Regions from separate parts of the Homo sapiens genome. Here region 2 is linked to region 1. Evidence: promoter capture Hi-C in 16 types of primary human blood cells and fetal thymus (Javierre and others, 2016). All regions are on one chromosome and are shown on one strand. The core of a region is centred on a gene start or on the middle of the fragment in contact, and the rest is flanking DNA. Distances in the headings are between cores, read along the strand shown. Region 1 holds the start of NUDT6 (nudix hydrolase 6). Region 2 overlaps MAD2L1-DT (MAD2L1 divergent transcript).

The links. Contacts are between HindIII fragments. The CHiCAGO score rates a contact against its expected background, and 5 or more counts as called.
Region 2: a contact is called between a fragment that was not itself captured here and the fragment with the promoter of NUDT6 in region 1, in 2 of 17 cell types (total CD4 T cells and non-activated CD4 T cells). The highest score is 7.1, in total CD4 T cells.

Annotation. Positions count from the first base shown.
Region 1 is chr4:122,921,310-122,923,869 of GRCh38, reverse strand. It overlaps NUDT6 (nudix hydrolase 6), which reads left to right and starts at 1,273. Exons shown (of 5, transcript NM_007083.5): 1 at 1,273-1,535. The coding sequence starts at 1,298. AFG2A (AAA ATPase AFG2A) reads right to left here and starts at 792. Exons shown (of 16, transcript NM_145207.3): 1 at 565-792. The coding sequence starts at 727. RefSeq lists enhancers at 431-800, 593-1,129. The HindIII fragment of the contact is 3,202 bases long and covers 1-2,560 here.
Region 2 is chr4:120,075,687-120,078,246 of GRCh38, reverse strand. All of the region lies in intron 1 of MAD2L1-DT (MAD2L1 divergent transcript), which reads right to left. Among named protein-coding and RNA genes, the nearest start is that of MAD2L1-DT, 10 kb to the right of the region's middle. The HindIII fragment of the contact is 1,023 bases long and covers 766-1,788 here.

The sequences.
Region 1 (2,560 bases), core at 24-2,523:
TCACGTTAACTTTCCTCCCTCTATAAAACTGTCATTACTATACCCATCGGTCACGGCTTCTGTAGAAATTAGATGAGCTATATATACTGCTAACACTAGTGTGCAGTTACTAGCAGTTATTAAATATCATAACCTGCGTAGTACTGGAAGAAAATGCTATCATCACTCCTAAAGGCAGAGTGATCCACATTTTTACTGAATTGGTTATTTAGTTTTTTAGGATAAGTATCCCATGTTCGCTAGTTATGAACAATTTTGCAATTAAATGTGTCGTTAATGTTAAATGAGACAAAGCGTTTCAAGTGCAACTTAAAAATTCAAAATAATTTACAAAAGAGAAACCTTGGACACGGATAAACCATTTCAGCCTAACTTCTCCAGTGCAGGCGCGGCTACGTTTGCATGCTTCTTACATACAGAAGTCTTACACGCTTCTGTGCCGCTCTCAGACCCATGCCACGCCCAACTTTCAAAAGTCTCTGCACCCCAAGTCAGTATCACTGAGTCTCCCGCCCCTCAGGTTGCGCCCCCTCGGCCTCTAGTCTCCCACCCGGAATTCTTTACCCTTTTCTAATAAGTTGGTCACCGTCAGAGTCCCGGAGGTTGCCGCGAAGTCTGATCCAGCAGAAGGAGCCCGTGCCTCCGCACAAGAGGAAGCAGCAGAGGGCAAGGACGAACCATTTTCCGCGCTTTGGTTCAACCGCTTTCTATTCTTCTTGGAAGACATGGTCACAAGGTACCCTAGCCGAAGCAGTAGAAAAGCCGACTCAATGTGCGCGCTTCAACTGAGAGAAAAACTTCCGGGGCAGAAGTCAGCGAGGGTCCGCCCCTGCGCCGTAATCCCCTGAGTGGAGCGCAGCAGTGCACAGCGTGGTGGGAGGGACTGAGCGTTTTCAAAACCAGCAGTCTTTGAAACAGCTGTAACGGCATCTGTGAAAGAAGATAGGTTCCAGGAACGGAACTGCCACTTAGATTGTAAATTCCTGAAAAACAGGACGTTTTTGCATCTCCTCCCGGCTTCCCCATCCCTAAACCAACGTCTGTTGAATTAAACTACCAAACAAAATAAGTGAGTGGCGGTGGGGGAGGAGGTTTTCCCCGCTTAACTGGAGCGGGGCAAATTGCTGAGAAGGGCTGGTGGACCACTTCGCGGTCTCCTTGGCATAGCTCTGCAGAGTGGTAACCCCAGCTCAACTCTGAGGGTATTGATGGCACTCTTCTAAAATGTACGGCCGCGATCTCCGCTCTGGAGCGCGGAGGGGTCATTTGGGCAACGGACGAATTAAGCGGCGTGGAGATGCGGCAGCCACTGAGCTGGGGCCGCTGGCGCGCGATGCTTGCCCGAACCTACGGCCCCGGGCCTTCGGCGGGTTACCGCTGGGCCTCGGGCGCACAGGGTTACGTGCGGAATCCGCCAGTTGGAGCGTGCGATCTGCAGGGCGAGCTGGACAGATTCGGGGGCATCTCGGTGCGCCTGGCGCGGCTCGATGCGCTGGACCGCCTGGACGCTGCCGCCTTCCAGAAGGGCTTGCAGGGCAAGTGCGCCTGGGACGAAGGGCTCCCGGGGCTCCAGAGCTTTTCTAATGAAATAACCGCGGCCCCCACTCCCTAGTCGCTCTGTGCACCACTGTCGAGCCCAGAGGGAAAGGGAGAAGGCACGCGTGACCTGGACCTGTTTTCTGGAGCATTCGTGCTTAGACCTTTTGCTGGGAGGTCTCTAAGGCGGTTGGGTGAAATGGTGAAGATCCCGGACTTTGGGATCTGCAACCCTGGTTGCTGGTCCACTTTCTACTGTGCGACATTCGGAAATTGCCGTAAACCACCATTTCCTCTTCCACAGACCCCGGTGATAAGAACTCCTGGAATTACTGAGAGTTAATTTGGATAATGCACATAAAGTGCACAGCACAGTGCCTGCCACGTATTTAAAGCTCAGTAGATGTTTGTTAATATTATATTATTACATTATTAGTATCCTTTACCGAGCCTTGGTTCTGTCGGACACTTTTCCCAAGGAAAAAAACTCTTACATTCTAATACGGGTGGTGGACTGAGTGGACCAAAGAGGCTTTTCTTTTTTATTTTTAATTTTTGTGGGTCCATAGTAGGTGTGTATGTTTATGGGGTATATGAGCTATTTTGATAGAGGTATAAATGTGTAATAATTACATCAGGGTAAATGAGATACTCATCACCACAAGCATTCAACCATAATCCAGTTACTCTTAGTTATTTTTAAATGTACAGTTTGTTTTTTTTTTTTTTTTTTTTTTTGAGAGAGGGTATCATTCTGTCTCCCAGGCTAGAGTGCAGTGGTAGGATCAGGGTTCACTGCAGCCTCCAACCCCTGAGCTCAAGCAATCCTCCCACCTCAGCCTCCTGGGTAGCTAGGACTACAGGCGCGCATCTGGCTTTTTTCTATTTTTTCTAGAAACGGTGTCTCACTGTGTTGCCCAGGCTGGTCTCAGTCTCCCGGGCTCAACTGATTCTCCCGCCTTGGCCCCTCAAAGTGCTGGGATTACAGGCAGGAGCCACTGCACCCAGCCTGAATCTTTATTGA
Region 2 (2,560 bases), core at 28-2,527, 2.8 Mb after region 1:
AAATTGACAAGATCTTTTAAGCACAAAATTTTTAAAAAATTCCTGTTTTTGCAGCCCTAGTCAGGGTACCCCTTTTGGCCATCCACTCTTAGCCAGATGAGCCAGTATTGCACCCTGGATCCTACCTCTTGTTTCTTTTCCTCCAGTTTTGGACTCTTTTCTTCCACTTTTGGATTATTTTCCTTGTTCCAATTCTGTGACTTTCCAGCCATTCAGCTCCATTGGTTTCCATTGCTGAATGGGTCTCAGGAGTTACATAGCAAGGATGGAGGAATATTAAGGACCCACTATAGTTTGCCTCAAATTAGAGTTATCTAAAATATAGTCAGATCTTTGATGCTTTCAGGATTCATATTCTGGTACCATCTAGATTGCTTGGATTTGACTCCAGTTCTCCTAGCTGGGTGACCTTAGCTAAATTATTCAACTTCCTTCTGTAACTTAATTCAGGTAATAGTAGTATCTAACTCTTGAGCTAATGAGGGATTAAATAAAATGATTCTTGTAAAGCACATAGAAATGTGCCTGGCAGATAGTATGTGGTTAATAATGTTGGCTATCATTATTATATATGTTATAAGAGTTTCTATCTCATCTGTGCCTTAAGTTGTATTATCTAAAGCCTCCTTTAGTTATGCTAAACTAAACATGTACCAACCCAGGAAAGGTGCGTGGAAAAGTGGTGAAAAGCTGTCTTATTAACAACAACAGTAACAATATAATAATAAAACAATAACAATAACATATTAGCATTAAGCCAAAGCTTCATTTAAATTATCTCATGTAATACTCAGAAAAATTATATGTGACAAGTACTATTGTTACATCCATTTTACCGATAAGGAAAATAACTCCTATATAATTCTTCTTAAATTGTCCAGATAGTCTGCTTCTAAGAAGTTTCTCTGGAACATGCTAGGCTAACATCTTTTTTTGACATATCTGCATGTGATCTCTGCTGTTGGTAGATTGCTTGGAGATTCCTGCTTCTTTTAGACAAGACCATGACACTCCCTCATTATGCAACCAGTAATAAAGTTTTTTTTTTTTATGTGATCTAAGTGGACTTTTATGACAGGATTTGTTGAAACCCCTAAGATGGCTTTTATTCTGTGCTTTGGGCAGTGGTAAATAGATGGGGTTCAAGAGTCTGGAGCACTCCTTCCCAATAAGAATGTATTTTCCTTACAGGATTGTTCTGCAAAGTCCATTATAAAGAATGATAGCTCACGCCGGGCATGGCGGCTCACACTTGTAATCCCAGCACTTTGGGAGGTCAAGGTGGGTGAATCACTTGAGGCCAGGAGTGCAAGACCATCGAAACCTTGTCTCCACTAAAAAATACAACAATTAGCTGGGTGTGATGGTGCATGCATGTAATCCCAGCTACACAGGAGGCTGAGGAATAAGGATCACTTGAACCTGAGAGGCGATGATTGCAGTGAGCTGAGATGGTGCCACCACGCTCCAGCCTGGGTGAAAGAGCAAGACTCTGTCTCAGAAAAAAAAAAAAAAAAAAAAGAATGATACTTCAAATTTCCACATAGGCATGCAGGTCAGCCATCCTAACTAGGTCTATTCCATATTTACCTAGAAGAGAGGACAAGCACGGAACACTACTATTCCCAACTCAGGTGCCTCATCCCCTAATCAATAAGGTTTCTGCAAACATCCTCAAAATCAGTGGCTTCCAAAGTGGAATATATGCAAAAAACAATCCTTTTGGGAGTATAGGAAGGAATGTTACAACTTCTATTTAATTTATGTTTTAACCTAGGAAAATAAGCTTTACTAAAAAAATGGATTTCAAAAAATGGACTGACATTGCACACTCACACAGTCTCCATGTCAGAAGGTCACGTTCTTACTCATATGTGGAAGTTAAAAAAGTTGATCCCACAGAAGTAAAAAGTACAACAGAGAATACTAGAGGCTGGGAAGGGTAGGCGGAAAGAGAGGACAGAGAGATTTGTTAAAGGAAACAAAATTACAGCTAGATAAGAGTAAGTTCTAGTGTTCTACAGCACTTGTAGGATGACTACATCCTACAAGTTAATAATAGTTTAAAATAGCTAGAATGGGGATATTGAATGTTTGAAACACAAAGAAATTATAAATGTTTAAGATGATAGATAGGCTGATTACCCTGATCTGATCACTATACATTGTATAGACCACAACATCACTATGCACCCTGTAAATATGTACAATTATTATTTGTCAGTTTTAAAAATTTAGAAAAAAAAGGGAGTCATAGGCCATGATTGGTACCCTGAGGAAATGCAAGTCAGCTGTGCCAGATTTACTGGCTCTTTCTCTTTGCAGTACTGTGCTAACAAGAACTTCAGAAAAATTAACATTCTTCCATTCCGTTTTTCAAAAGACACTCATGTTATGGAAGGAGCACGTTTGAATAAACTTTTTTTTTTTTTTGAGATGGAGTCTCGCTCTGTCACCCAGGTTGGAATGCAGTGGCACGATCTCAGCTCACTGCAAGCTCCAGCTCCCGGGTTCATGCCATTCTCCTGCCTCAGCCTCCTGAGTAGCTGGGACTACAGGT